4 separate regions of the Homo sapiens genome follow, and regions 2, 3 and 4 are each linked to region 1. Evidence: promoter capture Hi-C in human tissues and cell types (Jung and others, 2019). All regions are on one chromosome and are shown on one strand. The core of a region is centred on a gene start or on the middle of the fragment in contact, and the rest is flanking DNA. Distances in the headings are between cores, read along the strand shown. Region 1 holds the start of IDE (insulin degrading enzyme). Region 2 overlaps BTAF1 (B-TFIID TATA-box binding protein associated factor 1). Region 3 overlaps BTAF1 (B-TFIID TATA-box binding protein associated factor 1). Region 4 overlaps CPEB3 (cytoplasmic polyadenylation element binding protein 3).

Region 1 (4,522 bases), core at 1,978-4,477:
GGAGATTTGCTTGAACCTGGGAGGCGGAGGTTGCGCTGAGCCAAGATCATGCCATTGCACTCCAGCCTGGGTGACAAGAGCAAAACTTCGCCTCAAAAAAAAAAAAAAAATTCCTTTTCTTTCCTCTGCTAAAACATCTGGGGGGACAAAAGATATTATTTTTCTGAACATTACCAATTAGGAAATAAACGCCAATCTGTCACCACTGGGCTTCCTTTTTAAGTTTTTTTCTTTCAATCATTAGGAACTCCTGACTCAGCTCTATGGTGAACTCTATTCTATCTGGGCTAATGGAAGGAACTTACAGCACAGATAAACACTAATATTTGGCTTCCAGTATATCAGAATACTTATATTTGAATATGTGTCTAGTTTTCCTATCTAAGGCAAAGAATGACTTCAGCACATTACTTTTTCTGCTTCTAAAAAAGTTGTAGGCCGGGCATGGAGGCTCACGCCTATAATCCCAGCGCTTTGGGAAGCTGAGGTAGGGGGGATCATGAGGTCAAGAGATCGAGACCATCCTGGCCAGCATGGTGAAATCCCGTCTCTACTAAAAATACAAAAATTAGCTGGGCATGGTGGCGTGCGCCAGTAGTCCCAGCTACTCTGGAGGCTGAGGCAGGAGAATCACATGAATCCGGGAGGTGGAGGTTGCAGTGAGCCGAGATCGCGCCACTGCACTCCAGCCTGGTGACAGAGCGAGACTCCATCAAAAAAAAAAAAAGAAAGAAAAGAAAAAAAAGTTGTCTAGGTGGTTTACACCTTATACTTGTTTGAGTGAGAGTGGGAAAGATTACACCCTAGACCTTCACATTTCCTACTTTTTCTCATCATTCTGGGGTCTGCCTGAATGTCACTTCCTCAAAGAGGCCTTTCCTGACCACCTGTTCCTTCATATCACTTACTCACTTGATTATTATCTGTTTTTCCCACACAGCTAGAAGGTAATCTCCATCAAGACAGAAACTTTTGTCTTTTTTGTCCACTGCTGTATTCCCAGCACCTTTATAATACCTGGTATCTGTAAGGCATTCAACAAATATTTGTCAAGTCATAAATGAGATGAGCAAATCACAGGTTTTGGAATAAGACAGTCCTGGGTTCAAATTACAACTCCACTCTTTTTGTCCAATTGTTGGCAAGTTACTCAACCTCTCTCTGCCACAGCTTCCTCATCTCTGGTAGGTGAGGAAATATCCATTACAGAGGGTGGTCATGATGACTAATGAAGGAGCCATGTACAATGCCAGACACAGAGTAGACTCTCAAAATTGTTACTTTTCTTTCCATCCACCTCCTCTTTATTGAGATGATAGTTATGAGACTATATTAATATTAATCTTTCTTATCCAGGACATCTACTCCAACCAGAGGGAAATTTATCATGAAGCTAATGAAGTTTAAACTTCAGGGCTGCTCACTTGCACAGGCTCCAAACTGGGAGTTGTAGAGGGAAAGCCAGTTGTTGTCTGGAAGCATTTTTTTTTTTTTTGAGACATAGAGTCTCATTTTGTTGCCCAGGCTGGAGTGCAGTGGCGTGATCTTGGCTCACTGCAACCTCCGCCTCCAGGGTTCAAGTGATTCTCCTGCCTCAGCCTCCTCAGTAGCTGGGATTACAGACGCATGCCACCACGCCTGGCTAATTTTTGTATTTTTAGTAGACACGGGGTTTCACCATTTTGGTCAGGCTGGTCTCGAACTCCTGATCTCGTTATCCGCCCGGCTTGGCCTCCCAAAGTGCTGGGATTACAGGCATGAGCCACCACGCCCGGCCATCTGGAAGCATTTTTATGTAAGCATTTCTAATAAGTAGCCTAAAGAGATCTCAGGAAAAAAAAGGGTACTAATCTCCAAGTCTCGAGTATTTGTTGTGATGTATTTTCTCTCTATAGTAATCTTCTGATTGCTAATTTTGTATTTATAATTTGTATTTTATGTCTCAAAGAGGTCCCCCAAATTGTATATGTTTCAAGCCCTCCAAGTCTGAATCTACCCCAGCCCATTTATAGATTCCATTAATGGAGCATAAATGTATTCAGAAAGGCTGCATTAACACTCTCAGAGGAGCTGCTTCAAGGTGATTGACTACTCTGCATTGGGACTGGTAATTTAAAGGTTCTTAAAACCATGCACTTGCAAACACCACTAGGAGGCTTGCCATAATTTTTACCTGTTTTCATCCAAAGGTTTGCCTTTAGGTGAAACCGCACTGTTAAAAAGATCGTGGGTACGTCTTCGATAAAGCATCAACTTGATTAAGGAACCCTCCTACTGAATTCCCATTTAAAGCAATACTTGGACTAAGGACACCGTTTTTGGCTGCAGTCTTGATCGTCTGTCAATCAGAAACCTAAAAGTACTTAAGCTGGCAAGTCACCATCCCTAATAGCATTCTTCCTTAAAGACTCCCATAAGGTATTATGGAAAGTTAGATTCATAACAACTATTAAGTTGTTCGTGGGTGCAAAGCCCCATAAAGCCACTGGGGAGAAAATTCTTTGTTTAAAAAGTAACCACTGAAGCCGACTGACATTAGTAGTATTCCTAGTACGGAGTACTAACAAGAGTAGTAGTTTCTACTCTGGATTTGAAGCCTTGTTTTGCTGCGGCGCCCGTCCCATCCGCACCTTCCTCTTAAGAGAGCTGCTAACTTCCCCAAGGATGGAAACGTCCCCCTGGGTCCTGGCCTCTCTATCGCTGACCCCTGCGTCTGAATTTCCCCCACGCCGCACTCGAGCCTTGTCTCCAGCGCATCTGTGCCTTCGCGGTCCACGTCCCCACCGCGCTCTAGAGGGAGCCCGCGGGCCGCGCGCCGGCCGCGGATTCATTTTACGTGAGGCCGCCGCGACCACGAACCTTGTTCCAACACCTGCAGGGTCCGGCACGCTAGTCAGTGGGGGTGCCTCAGAAAACATAGCCCCGTGTGCCCTCACTGGATTTATGAGCGGCCCCTCGCCCCCTCACAGTCAGACACACGTCGCCACCCTCACAAGTGCGGCCGGTGGGATCTAGCTGGGACCCTCCCCGCCTGGGAAAGTCTGGGTGCTGGCTCCTAAAGCGCCCCGGCCAAACCCCTGTCCCTCCAGTCCGCCTGCTCAGGCCTCGGCTGTCCGCGGTCTTCACCGTCCTCGCCTGCGTCCTGGCCCCATCCGGCTCCAGGCAAAACCCGGAGCAGCTACCTCTCCGCAGCTCCCGGGAGACCGCGCGGCGCCGCGGCTAGAGCATGCGCAGTGCGCAGGGCCGGCTCGAAGCGCAAGCAGGAAGCGTTTGCGGTGATCCCGGCGACTGCGCTGGCTAATGCGGTACCGGCTAGCGTGGCTTCTGCACCCCGCACTGCCCAGCACCTTCCGCTCAGTCCTCGGCGCCCGCCTGCCGCCTCCGGAGCGCCTGTGTGGGTAAGCGGAATGGAGCGCCCGGGCCCTCGGGCCCCGTGGGTCACAGCGGTTTGGCGCTCGGGTTGCAAAGTGGTGATTCAGCACTTAAAGCCGCCACCGCTGCCCCTCACGCCGCCCGTCCCGCCGGCCTGGGGCCCGTACTGCCGCGCTGAGGCCGCCCCAGGGCCCGGAAGAGCGGCTCGCCAGGCGGGAGCCAGAGGCCTGGTCCAGAGTCGGGGACGTCCCTTGGGCTGGTGAGGGGCCGGGGCCGCTACCCGGGGCCACGGGGCGTGTGCCACTAGTGCGGGGGGCGCAGGGGCGGACAGAGTCACCCGGCCTGCACCTGGGAGCCGCGCCGCGTCACTCTCCCGGAGTCCGCCTGTGAGGGGGCCGGGAACCTGAGGCGGACTCGAGCCGTGGGGTAAAGGAATCCGGCGACTTCGGGGGGACCGCTTCTCACCTTGCCCTCAGCCCTGCCCTTTTCTCCGGGCACTGAGTTTCCAGGACCGTGTGGAATGCCCGCGCTGGGAAAAAAGTTTGCCTGCCTCCCGCCTTGGAAGACGAGTGTGGGGTTTCCTATCGGGGGACATTTAGGAGCCAAAAGATACCTCGGGATCCTCTACAGCAGCTCCCTTGTTTTACGTCGGAGACAACCGGAGCTCCGAGAGATGGCTTGATTTCCCAGCAACTGCCGAGATTGTGGCAAAACCAGGATTAGGACACAGGTTTTTTGCCATCCGGCGGCGTGCCCTCTCCACTGCACCGTTGATCTGCGTACGCTAGGCGTTTTCAGGCTTGTAGTGAACGCTGAATACTTTTTACTACGAATGGAAGAAGATAGGCAGTATTATCTTGCCCTCCCTAGAAACGTTATTTGAACCCCTGCTGGTTTTAATCAGTAATAGCCAGCACCTACTAAGTGCAGGGCACTGTGCTGGACCCTCTATGTAAAGTATGTGTCTGCCTTCCAAGGAACTTTGACTTGATTGGAGCGGATTGGGATGCCACGGGAATTGAGATAGCTACAAGGGTGTGTTGATGAGGGTCAGAAGATGGGTAGTATGGGTAGTGTGTGGGGCCAGAGATGGGGGGGTAGGCTGGCTTTGGAAGGAATGGCAGAAAGGTTGGAGTGAGGGCTGGCGTGG
Region 2 (4,428 bases), core at 723-3,222, 590 kb after region 1:
CTTATGATTTAGCAATTCCACTCCTACATATTTACCCAAGAAAAATGAAAGCAGATGTCCACAAAGACTTGCAGAAGAACGTTTATAGTGACTTTTTTCACAACAGACAAAAAGTGGTAACAGCCAAAGTGTCCATAAACGGGAGAATGGCTTAAACTAGTTGTGGTATAATAATACAATGAAATAAAACTCAAGCAATAAAAAAAATAAGTTATTGATATATATATATATAACACAGATTAGTTTCAAAAATACCATTCTAAGAAAAATCCTTACACCAAAGAGCACAGTGTATGATTTCATTTACATGAAATTCTAGAACAGGCAAAAGTAATGTATCTTCGGGGGGGAATTAGAATAATGGTTACTCGGTGGCAGGGAGAGGCAGAGATTACTGGGAAGTGGTGATGATAATGTTCTGTATCTTGACAGTGGTTCAGGTTTCATAGGCATATGCATCTGTCAAAATTCACCAAATGGTCCACCTAAGATTTGTGTGCTTTAGCACATAAATTTTTCCTCAGAACAGCAAAAAAAAATAAACAAATACTGAATTTTAGTTAATTATATAAAATCCTGAAGTATACTGATATCTGAAACTTACTTAGAAACGCATTTAAAAAAACTGCCCTGGATGGATTCATGGTTGGATAGAGAGGTAGGCAGGTGAATACGTATGTGATAAAGTAAATTAGGTAAAATGTTAACTATAAAATCTAGCTGTTAAGTATGAGTGTTATGTAATTTCATCACTTTTTCTATATGTTTGAATATTTTCATTATAGGCTGAGAGCAGGAAGAAGTACTCAGGAACTTGTAGAAGCAGTTTTTTCTATACTCTGCAGTGTTAAGCAAAACTGAAATGACAAAATATAATAGCTTTTTCTAATAAAGGTGCATTGATTTATCAGAATTTTGGTTTAAAAAAAATTCTTTGTTATTCTCTTATTTCAAGAAAAGCCTATACAATGAAATAACCTTTCTCAAGGGTAGAGATGACAGGCTACCAAGCCACATACAGACTCAACAAACTAATGTGTTTTTGTGATAAACATGTCATGACAAATTTCTAACCTATATTTCATGTTCTATCTCTAATTAAGAAAGTTATTTCTTTACTCACCAAGTCACTAGCTTGATCTATTGTTAAAACATTGTTGTTTACTCGATTACCAACTTCAATATGTACATCAGCTAATGATGATATAAGTTGTTTACATTCATTCTGCATTCGTGTGAATGGAACGGCAATTTCGTCATAATATAAATGTTCTGAAAGGATATCAAGTAAACGCGGCTGCACAGCTAAGGTAACAGCTTTACACTCCTAAAATACAACAGAAAACAAATAGGGTAACTGTATGAACATTAACTTTATAGATACAGAAATCGTCATTTGTAGACTACCAAGTTCTAAATTCTTACTTGTACTGAATCTATATTCTGTTACTTCTCCAAACAACAGTTAATTGCACAGAAAAAAAGGTATTACATCCAAATTATTGTAAAATTTTAACATGAATGACTACAGAACATGCACACAGAACTATTACAACTTCATTTTCTACCTATCCAAAGTTTACACGTGTATATATATCACAGATTTTAAAGTGTATTATGGTAAAAAAAAAAAAAATCAGAAAAGAAATCTATCAAGCACTAATTAAAAATGTTATTTAAAAACTCATTATTAGATAACAGTTGAACCCTAAGCTTCACATGCCATACTGTAAAAGTGGATATAAATTTTAAAAGCTACTTATCTATCCCCAAATTTAACTAACCCTTCCCACTCTCTCTGGTTGTTGCCTGCCCCAAACCAACAGGAAATGGCCTCAGTGGTGAGCCATGAGGGGTTCTGTGGCATCTCAGTTATCAGCCTGGGCTTCACAGAGTAAGTCCATGAAGCTCTGTGAGTGTCCAGAAACCTAACTGTCAACACTTGCTGCTAAGTCTGAGAGGCACAAAAACATAGCATCACTGCCTCTCCAGCACACCAACTCCTGCCTAAAAACAGATGAGCTTTGCTTCTTTCCAGAGGCCAAGCAGGGGTGTCAGCTGCAATGGAGCATGGCTCAATTACTTTTAGATACAGCTTTGACAAACTGCTAACAGGCAGTAACAAGTAACTCTCACAGCAAGTGCAGACAGTTAAATTTCCAGAATTCCAGTCAATGGAATAAACAAAGCCAGTAGAAAGTTTCTTTGATTTACAGAAGTATGTCTTATACAAAATCATACATCTCCCTAGAAGTTAACGGTTAAAGAGGCTGGAAGGGAATGGTTTATTTGGAAACATGAAGATTTTGGTTTAAATACAGAGATGTTATTCTTCCTGTGACCAAAAATTCTGCCTTTGCTACTACCCACACAGATGGATGTCTAATACTCAAAGCCTCATCCTTTGTAGTTTTCAGTGATACCTGAGTGACATATAGAGGAATGGATGACCAATAGTTTCTGGACTACTTTCACATATACGCGGTTTTTAATAGGGATATTTCTTAACAGACTGTACAGTCAACAGCAAATATTAAGTATGAGCATAACTAGTAGTTGGAAGTATGAGTAGGGGTTCTAAGACAAAAGTCCAGAGTTAAAAGTAAATGGGAGAGAAATAATCTTCAATATAATTTGGACACTTTTCTGTAACTCTTGGATTTTTATACATCGAAAATTTTCACTTTTCTGTTGTAAATAATCCTAACAGCTAATGGAAATTGGTTTACTTAATTTGTCTTTATTACTTTTGGGGCAAAATCTTACCTTTTGTAAAGCAGCCCATTCACAGATTACCAAAGCTACACTAATCCTCTGTAAAGCAGACTTGGAGTTCAAATGGAAGAGTAGTAACTGGCCCAGGGATTCAGCTGGTTTAATTTCTTGAGTTACCACATTTACACCTGGATCACAAATACAGCAACAAAGTGCTCCTAACAACCTAAGAGGGAGAAAAAGGAAGTTACTATAAGAAATTACTTGAAGTAAAGTTTCCCCATACTTCGGGAAATTTTTTCAATTTCCTATAATTACTTGAAGCAAAATTTGGCTTTTTGAAGCCATAACTTTTCCCACAGAAGGTATAATGACTATCTTGTCTTCATAAGAAGATATAAATCCTATTTTAAAGCTTTAAAATAATTAGAAGTATTTGCTTACTCTAATTTTTCCTTAGGCTATAATTAGTGTGATGAAGGAAGGAAGGACTGATGGAGACAGCAGAGGAATCTTCTGTTGGTTAAATAACCTTTGAAAGCCAGACTTGTAAATGTATGACTACCTGACACTTAATGTACACTCACTTGGCTGCCATCATTCTGGCCCGCATAACTACAAAATCCCTGGTGGCTGGGTCTTCCATGATGGTGTCGGCACCTGCAATATACTCCTGAAGTACTTCTTTATTCTGGCTTTGGCCTTGGCGCACCTTACCACCTGTTTTTTCCTACAGAGGGAGGGGAAAAAAAAACAATAAAGATTAACCATTAAAACTGAATAGGCAACAACAAAAATATGATATTTTTAAAATAATCCCAGTAAAATACAGTTCTTTTCACAAAATTTTAATGGATAAACATTACTATTCATTTTGTCAGGGTCCTAATAAAATAACGGTTTCTCCTTACTTATGTTAATTAAATCACACTTAAGGCAATACAGATTTTTAAAAATATGGTTACTGTATTAATAATTAGATGATGAACACACAAATACACTATGTCCCTCTACACTTACCTTGGCTCTAGCTTTTACTTCTAGCAACATATTTAAATCGATAGGTAAATGAGAAGGCTGCATCATCAAGCAAAGCCAAGCACCCATCCATGGGCAAGCAGCTGCTACCACATACTGAACTGAAGCCTTACTCAACAGTTCCATCCAAACCTGCAGGGTAAAAGGGGGACATGAAAGTGAATTTTTTCTAATAAAAATAAACTCTAACACTTATCTTTAGGAATACTGAGGTTTTTTTAAGTAGGAAATAGCACAGAGATTAATTTAGAAATTCAATATAGAGGCTTATTTTGAAATACAGTACTGTTTTCTAATAGGTTTGTGCACTAAAAAAAAAGTCATGCAAAGGAAAGTTTTTTTTTAAAAAAAGAACACAATTCTCTTTTTAAAAAAACATGCCTATAAAAGTAATACAAAATTGTCAAAATCTCAGTAAGTCACTGAAATAAATCCTTTGCATATATCATAAGACTCAATATTAATGCAGTCCTATATTCAACACACATTTAAAAATAGCTCCTAATATTCTCTGCTAAACTCAAAGGTGGTAATAACCTAGTATAAATTTAAAACAGTATAAGTTTTGATTCATGATCTTACTTAATAAGGATAAGGTACCTTTCCTGATGCCTAACATTTAATGGGCTAGGACTAGCCTATGGCAAGATCACCACTGTTAATCCAAGGTTGTTA
Region 3 (4,358 bases), core at 1,654-4,153, 610 kb after region 1:
TAAAGACTTTTTACTTTATTCCACTAATTAGAAATAATTACCTGCATTGTTGGACCTGAGGGTAAGTTAACAAGGATGAAAGGAGAGTCATAATACTATTTGTTGAAGCTGTTAGATCATCTAATTCCAGAAGAGCATCCCACAATGTATTTATAATGAAGGGCACCTATAAGATCAGTTTTCAAGAAAAGTTATCAATTTTGCACAAAATACTCACAAACCCTGCCAAATGGTATCCCAGGGGTCACTACTGATTCAACAACACATGCAATTCCAATGACCTTGGACGGTGTCAATTTTGAGTAAAGTTAAGGAGGTCACACTATTTGCCTTTAACAATTCTCTATTCCTTCTTTTTAATGCCATTCAACTCTACTTTGATACTTCCCTGCCTGACCAGACTCATAATGGGTAGAATTCAGAAAATAAAAGAGCCACAACTATTTTATGTAAAAAACTTAACAGTGAAAACAACAGAGCATCGAGACACAAGACATGTTCTTCTATGTAATTTTACTGCATTTAAAATGGTACTAATCATCATAAAAAAAATTTAGTTTTTAAGCTCTTAAAATACTGCTTACTGTACTTCTAACTTTGTGTTCTGATTTTGATAATAAGGTGGAAAGTCAGCCAGATCTTTAAAAAAGTCATTTCAAAAAATGAGACTAGAGGGGTGGGTGTGATGAGTCACACCAGTAACCCCAGCACTCTGGAAGGCCAAGACTGGGAAGATCTCTTGAGCTTAGGAGTTTGAGACCAGCCTCGGCAACATAGGGGGACTCCCCCATCACTACAAAAAATAATTTTTTTTTTTTTTTTTTGAGACGGAGTCTCGCTCTGTCGTCCAGGCTGGAGTGCAGTGGCGCGATCTTGGCTCACTGCAAGCTCTGCCTCCCGGGTTCACGCCATTCTCCTACCTCAGCCTCCTGAGTAGCTGGGACTACAGGCGCCCGCCACCATGCCTTTTAAAAAATCAGCCAAGGCACAGTGGCATGTGTCTGTAGTCCCAGCTACTTAGGAGGCTGAGGCAGGAAGGACTGCTTGAGCCCAGGAGAGTGGGGCTACATGTCATCCACTGCACTCTGGCCTGGGTGACAGAGTGAGACCCAAGAAAAGAAAGAAAATGTTATGTGTATATATAGATTACACAGCACTTATTAGTTAATAATTAATACTAATTAATAATTAATAATGAGAGGAGGAGAGGAGAGACAGGGAGGGGAGGGGAGACTAGATTTAAAAAAACAATCCAAAAACTAAAATCAAAACAAACAAAAATCCAATATATCTAAAAACCAGGAGTAAAATTAGGAAGAAATGGCTGCATTCTTCTCAAGGAAGTTCCCTATATATTATGTACATGAAGGGAAAGTAGACAAATGGATCCAATTCACTCTTCCAAAGTACAATATATAATCAAGATTGCATGCATCAGAGGGCTGTTGTTAAAAAAAAAAATTGAAGATGAAGGAGAAAAATGTACACAATGTATTTTCTAATACTCCATATCCCAAATGAAAACAAGCTCTATAGTAAGAAACTGTAAAAATATTTAATTTACCTTTTGTGTCTGAAGATAGACAAGGCTTTCTACTACAGGCACTAATGATGCTGCAGCAACAGCTCTGACATCATCATCAAGATCCTGGAGTCCTTCAATTATTCTAGTTAAAACTTTAGGCAATAAAGTATTAATTACATCCTGTAAAACAGTACATGAAAATAAATTAATTTTCTATTCTACAGTTACTGTGCTTAAACATTTTAAAATTTAAATTTGCCACATGACAGCTAAATTCCAATATTTATAGTCATGCACTGCTTAACAATGGATACATTCTGAGAAATACATCAGGCAATTCTGTCATTCTGTGAACATTATAGAGTGTACTTACACAAACCTAAACAGTATAGCCTATACCACGCCTAACTATGTGTGTGACACAGCCTATTGCTTCTAGGCTACAAACCTGCACAGCATGTTACTGAACTGAATACCATAGGCAGCTACTAACAAAATGATAAATATTGGTATATTTAAATACAGAAAAGGTACAATCAAAGTACAGTATTATAATCTTATGGGACCACCATCATATATGTGGCCCATCATTGACTGAAACATCATTATGACTGTACCTACTAAAAAACAATCACATAAACAAAAATGTAACATCAATAGAAGCCTAAGTAATCCCATTTGAAAAAGACAAGGGCATCAAGTACTTTATTCAATGAGACATAAAACATCAAAACATGTTTTATACGTAAGACTATGAATTCTCTGTGTGAATACACACACACACAAACCCCTCTGCCAGAATCCTAGCCTCCATATCTCATTCAATGCCACCGACAACCAAAAGGAAAATGAGAGAAGAGTGAAAGAAAAGCCATACCTTCCCACTTCTCATTATTCCAATTTAATGTCTTTTCATTTCCCCCAACAGACCAGGCCCCAGACATTACTCCTGTGATCATATACTAGGAATCTCACTGAGAACTGGTTTCACTACGAAATAGGGATAATATTTCAAAAACAAATAAGGTGCTTTCCATTTCCATATAAGTCTACTGTTATCTACAGAGGCTAGAGTGCAGAACACAGAAAAAAAGGTTTTGTTTATGGGGGTAAGAGGGTGGCTGCCAAGGGGAGAAGAGCACTAAAAGGGGCAGGAAAAGCAAGGAAGGGAGCAGAGGGAGAAAAGAGTTGGACAGAGAGTTCAGGTCTCTCAGCAGAATCACGAATGCTTTGTTATTGGCAGTTAAAGAAGGGAAAAAAAAAAAAAGACAATCTTAGAAAACTTCAAAAGGCCTTTGAGCTTGCTTTTTGAGACAGAAAGGGAGGTTCCAATCTGTTATACAGTGAGCATGGGAAGAGAAGAAAAGCTGGCACAAAGCATTAAGTAGCCATAATGGATAGTGAAATGCCTATATAGGCCAATGCCTAACACCCTGACAATGCTGATCCTAACTGGAAAGTATTACGGGAAATTAAACTGGTAAGAAAAGGTCCTGGTCTCTCTCTAGCTCCTCATTCATAATCTCTCCTTTACTTCCACGTCTCTTCTTTTTCGTCAATACTCACTCTTTGCTGACCCATTATGTTCAGAGTCAAGACAACTATTTGTGGAAGTCCCTAATTCTGTCACTAGATCTATGGTGGAGAAGCAGGGAGAAGGAGAAAAGAGATGTTTTACTGGCATCTCATATTGGAAATCAGAATCAATTTTTCCACAAAAATATTATGTGTATATATAGATTACACAGCACTTATTAGTTTAGTAAAGGACTTTAGATATATTTATATATGAAATAGGCTTTTGTGGGCCAATCTAAGAACTGAAGTCCTAGCCAGAATATATCAGAGTTTTTAATAACCCACTAAGGGAACATAAATGTTCCTGAGTAGGGGACTATCTGCATATGCAGGTATTTTCATCCTAGATGATGTATAACATTACACTAAACACTGTTCTATAAGACATGCCATTTAGTTTCTAGTTCTAGTACTAACTAACCTTAACTAGTTTTGTGACCATCAGCAAGGCATCTAATTTTTCAGAACTTATTTCCCTATATGAAAATAATAAGACTACATGCATTTTCTTCTTCTAAGCTTTGTCATAAAGGATTAAAAAAAAAAAAAAAACACTGACAGTTTATGTAAAAAGTACATGACCATACAGATTGTCTGCTTTACACTTTGATGTCTACTCCTGTATGTATACTGCATAACTTGGCACCATGTTGTATAGCCCTCAGAGCATGTATTCAATATTTAAATGAGTTAAAACAGTAAAACCAAATCATGAAGAGCACTGAATTAACTGTAGCAATGGATTAAAAAGGAAAAATAATCTTTGAACTTAAAGAGCAAACAATGTAACTAACCATCTTTTGATTTATACTTAAATTCTTATGAGCGCCACCTATCTCTATGACACTCTCTCAAGACGGCAAATCTTGGAAGACTGGCTTCTCTGTAACAGTAAGAATCTACGGCCATTTCGTCTAATTAGTGAAAATAAACTATAAGGGGGAAAAAACTCTCCCACATAAGCTTCAAAACTTGAAATATTTACCTGACGGACTGCCAAAGCATATTTTATTCCCAGCAGACCACCATGTCTAACTTCCCATTGTTCTTGTGTAAGTAATTTTAGCAGCACATCCACAGTCTTATGAACTCCTGTTTCGTTCATGTGTTTTAAAACCACACCTAATGTTTGAGCACAAGTTTCACGAACTGGTGCCACAACCTACAGACGAAAAAGGAAGAAAACTCATATTTGCAAAAAACGTATTTTGTAGAATTTGAAATTTGATTGGGCAAAGCCTCCCTTAAATGATAC
Region 4 (4,301 bases), core at 88-2,587, 530 kb after region 1:
ACCAACTGCTGTCCTTGTGTGAGACAGTGCCTTTCTCCCAGGCCGAATCTTTTATGTGCACTGACAGTGGTGATATCGGAGTCATACAGGAAGTTGCTAAGAGGACACGGCTTTCGTGGTGTACTGCAGACCTCACCTGCAGGGTCTCACTCATGCTGCCTCCCTGTAAGGCTCAGTTGGTGGCACTGAGGAAGCACACTCGGATGTCACCACTGTCTGTGGACCCTGACTATGTGTCGGGTTGCATCTTCCTCCACACCCATGCCTGCTTCCTGTTCTGGTGCCCCTTGCCTTTCATTGTGGCAACTGCGTGCATGATCTGTCTGCCTTTCTGCTGCTGCTTTTCCAACACCCTCCTCACCTGGAAGCTGGGCAGTTAAGGCACAGTCATTAATGTGTCATTGCAATAGCACCTACAGTCAAAGCAAAAACTACAACTGCAAAACTGGTGTTGCGTAAACAGAACAGCCAATGACTTGATCCAGATAGATGATATGTTTCTACTAGTGGTTGATGGCCTCTTTCAGCTCCATCGCTATGGAGGCGAGGTTCATCAATAACTCAGAGAAACTTGTGTCCAGAGTTGGTCTTGGGTATGCTCTATGTATTCAGTTTTGTAAATAATATATAGATTAGATCAAGTTGTGATGTAAAATTTTAACTCAAATTGGGTACTACTGGTTGGAATTTTACATTAACTACAAATAAATGATTAGGAACAGAAGAAAAGTGGAAAATTCTTGCTTAGTGGTATAAAGATTATGCTTAGATTTCTGCCTATATCTTGTGTTTTATAGCTTGTTAGTGAGGCATGGGCTAATGCAGAATGTACTGCATTTATGCAATTAGCAAATAACTGCTAGTTTTCATTTTATCTATTATATTAGCAACAAAAATGGCATTTAACTGGGTAAAGCTCCTACCTAAATATTTGAGTATTGTGACATCTCTACTTGCAAGGTTTGAGTGAAAGATTAGTCACAGATTAGTGAAAAAAATGTATCTTTTTGTTAAAACTGGCTTATTTGAATGGATTGTTGCTTTTCACTAGCTTGTATGGTATGTCAGCTAACATTTGTTTTTTTTTTTCTTTTATAATAACCAAACTTCTCTATCTCAGCTGCAATAGTGTTCCATCTTACCACAGAGTGTTTTATAATTAATGCTGTTGACTTTATACCCCAAAATGGGTCAAGAAGTGGCTACATGATTAGGGGATGTTTAAATTTGTATGACGACAAAGTTAATTGCAACAAGTAGAAAACTTGGGTGCTAACACAGGATAACTTCTGCTCTTTTTCTTTCCTGGATATAGTTCTGTTGGGGTATAAAGTATTAGGTATTTGTATTTTTTGCTGTCAAAATAATGGACTTAACTTTTAGAGTGTTCACAGCTAGGATCTCTGTATTTGTTTTTCAACTAACAACTAATTTTAAATGTATTGTATCTTTTATTACCTGTTCTCTTAGATTGTTTTTTGCTAGTAACCCTTACTCAGCTTCTGCCTTTGGGGCTTGGACTAATATTGCTTGTATGGAACTACAGTACTGTGACTAAACATGGAGCTCAATGCAGCTACTGCTTACAACTGCTTAAACTTTGTAGTTTGGACTTCATTTTTTTCTGTAATAACAACTTATTAAATCTAGTTGTATGAAGTACTGACACTTGTCATCCGTTGCATTTGCTGAGGAATAACTTGGAGTATATGGTTCACATCTGGGAACATTGGTGCATTCCAATTTGCTTAACTCTTTTTTTTGACAAATCCCTTTAAAGCAGACTAAGTACAGCAGAATTCACCCTTTCTCTGACACAAGTAACACTCGTTTATGAAAAACATGCAAGTATATTTGCAACAAAGTATTTGTTGACACATGTGAACACACCTTTTTAGAGGTGCAGTTGGGTTTTTATGCCAGACTTGCTACATGAAACCAATTCTCAAAATCGCAACCAAAACAGTGGAAAGGTAGGTGTGCCACTTCGCTTTATCTTTCACACCTGGCTCTCCGATTTTTCAGAAAATGCGTCTTTTAAAAATCCCTATCGATTTTGGGTGTGCTAGAAGCCATGTACTGACTAATCCATTTAGAAAACGGATCACAAGTGGCTGCACCAGCGAATCCCCTGCGGGGCCTTCAGAACAAGCAGGGACCAGCGTCCCCCCAGCCCGGTCCCCGAGACAGATTCACTTGGGTTAGGCTGGGGTCTGGCCACAGGTATTTTTCAACTCCCCGGCGATCACCCCCATGATAGGAAACCGCTGTGTCGGTGCCTCAGGCCCATGCAGCGCCTTCCTACGGCGGTCGAGGCCAGGCGCGCCCAGTACGCCTGGAAGAGGACGGGGCCGCTGGAGAGCCGCTCTGCAGAGCGACGTGGAGCGGCTGGGGGCGTCGGGTCTTGTCTCAGGCTCCCTCCCAGGCCGCCCCACCCATAGTCTCCCGCCCGCACCCTTTCGGTCCCCGCTCCAGGTCCCACGTTCTGCCCCTCCCGCACCCAGGGGCCCTGGCCTGGGCGGTGGCGCATTTCCTCCTGGCCGCAGCCCTGCAGGTAAGCTCACCCGGGCCGGTGACCCGCGCCCCTCCGTGCCACCGGGCCTGAAGGGCAGCTCAGGGCCCACCCTGGGGGAGTCGCTCCTGGCTCTGCGCGAGGCTCAGCTTTGCACGTTGCTCTATTCAGCACCAGCTTTCACCTGGCAGGGAGCAGGTGCCCCCTATTCACCTAGGGAAACCAGGAGGCTCAGCCCTTGTGCCGCTGGGATCGGATGGAACGTTTGGAGCTCTCTGGTCCCTTTGGTCCCCCTCCCCTGGCCCAAATGGAGAGAAAAATGTGTTTGAGCCCCTTTTAAGTCTGCTTTTATTAGAAATAATAACATACATTAAGGCCACAATTGGAATCCTACTTTCAGACGGCCGGTCTGACTAGGAGCACACATTTGTCCCTTGATTTAAAAAAAAAAAGAAAAAAGGTTCCGATGTCCTAACTGTTGGTGTGAAGACGGACTAGGTAAGTAAATAGTGCCATTATGACTACTAGTGTTTATTTCTAGCGGGGAAAATCAGTCGGTAGTCCTGGCGTTCCCTGTGCCTGAAGTCTGCAGCAGCCCCGCTTGCTAATTGCATGGCTGTGCGCGACAGGCCCCATGAGGTGGCCAGAGGTTATGTCTAAGGTCCCGGCTTTACCAAAAAGAAAACTCATCACCAGCAGCGCGGATGGACATTAAGCTTTAACACTGGGCCGTGGTGATGTTTCACTAGACCTTTGGCACATGTATGTGAAGCGATATTCACATAAGCACTCTCACGCTGGAGTCAAATTTTAAATATATGATTTTAAAAATATTTTAACGAGAACTGTTCTATAAAGGGTATTGATTAACGGGGTGAGGAAAGCCCAAATTGGTGGGTCCTACTGCCATTCAAAGGATTGTCAGGAGGAAAAACTCTTTCCTCTACCAGCTAAGTTTGATTGGAGGTCTGCTAATTAACTAAAAATTAACAAAAGACGAAGTTGATCCATACGCACATGGAAGTGCACAAAAGTGGCTTCTTCCTCCATAATTAGAGATAGGGGTTTATATAACCAACAATAAGGGAAAGAGGGGGAGCTCTCTCATAGAAAAGGGCATCTATGGGAAGATCAAGTGGTTTCTTTAGGAAATACAAATGAGTTTTAGGAGATACGAAAGTTTCTGGCGATGTTTGTTTATGCAGTTGCCAATGGTCTCCATCCCTTTTCTGCCCACTAAAGCTCCCTGGGAGGGGATTTACGGCAGCTTCTCTCTCAGAAGTTTCTGCCTTTATTCAGATAAAGGAAGCTCTGAAAAAGCTCACTTTTGCATCTGTTGAATCTCAAATGTCTTTAGTTTAAAATAATCTTTGGCCGGTGCTGTGGCTCATGCCTGTAATCCCAGCACTTTGGAAGGCCGAGATGGGTGGATCACTTGAGGACGGGAGTTCAAGACCAGCCTGACCAACATGGTGAAACCCCGTCTCTACTAAAAATACAAAATTAGCTGGGCGTGGTGGCAGGCGCCTGTAATCCCAGCTACTTGGGAGGCTGAGACAGGAGAATTGCTTGAACCCGGAAGGCGAAGGTTGCAGTGAGCCAAGATGGCGCCATTGCACTACAGCCTGGGCAACAAGAGCTAAACTCCGTCTTCATCATCATCATCATCATCATCATCTTCATCTTCATATCAAGTCTGGGGTTCCAAGTGGGTCCCCACAAGCTGGAGTGCTGCTGGTCACTGAAACGTAACTGAAATTTATCTATATTCAGTCCCATTACATAGTAG

The links. The method cuts DNA at HindIII sites, captures the fragments that hold promoters and counts their contacts. A contact is called where the count stands out against the background at its distance.
Region 2: a contact is called between a fragment that was not itself captured here and the fragment with the promoter of IDE in region 1, in 2 of the 25 tissues and cell types used here (lymphoblastoid cells and spleen).
Region 3: a fragment that was not itself captured here is called in contact with the fragment with the promoter of IDE in region 1 in 2 of the 25 tissues and cell types used here (mesenchymal stem cells and stomach).
Region 4: a contact is called between a fragment that was not itself captured here and the fragment with the promoter of IDE in region 1, in 3 of the 25 tissues and cell types used here (mesendoderm cells, spleen and thymus).

The regions. Positions count from the first base shown.
Region 1 is chr10:92,572,798-92,577,319 of GRCh38, reverse strand. It overlaps IDE (insulin degrading enzyme), which reads left to right and starts at 3,227. Exons shown (of 25, transcript NM_004969.4): 1 at 3,227-3,398. The coding sequence starts at 3,301. RefSeq lists enhancers at 2,568-2,807, 2,818-2,877 and a silencer at 3,378-3,827. The HindIII fragment of the contact is 24,485 bases long and covers 1-4,522 here.
Region 2 is chr10:91,981,100-91,985,527 of GRCh38, reverse strand. It overlaps BTAF1 (B-TFIID TATA-box binding protein associated factor 1), which reads right to left. Exons shown (of 38, transcript NM_003972.3): 16 at 3,736-3,885; 17 at 3,303-3,445; 18 at 2,767-2,941; 19 at 1,124-1,327. Among named protein-coding and RNA genes, the nearest start is that of BTAF1, 60 kb to the right of the region's middle. The HindIII fragment of the contact is 5,774 bases long and covers 1-4,428 here.
Region 3 is chr10:91,959,885-91,964,242 of GRCh38, reverse strand. It overlaps BTAF1 (B-TFIID TATA-box binding protein associated factor 1), which reads right to left. Exons shown (of 38, transcript NM_003972.3): 11 at 4,089-4,265; 12 at 1,565-1,705; 13 at 42-166. Among named protein-coding and RNA genes, the nearest start is that of BTAF1, 38 kb to the right of the region's middle. The HindIII fragment of the contact is 5,257 bases long and covers 275-4,358 here.
Region 4 is chr10:92,044,053-92,048,353 of GRCh38, reverse strand. CPEB3 (cytoplasmic polyadenylation element binding protein 3) reads left to right here. Exons shown (of 10, transcript NM_014912.5): 10 at 1-1,662. Among named protein-coding and RNA genes, the nearest start is that of BTAF1, 120 kb to the right of the region's middle. RefSeq lists an enhancer at 1,724-2,400. The HindIII fragment of the contact is 5,365 bases long and covers 1-4,019 here.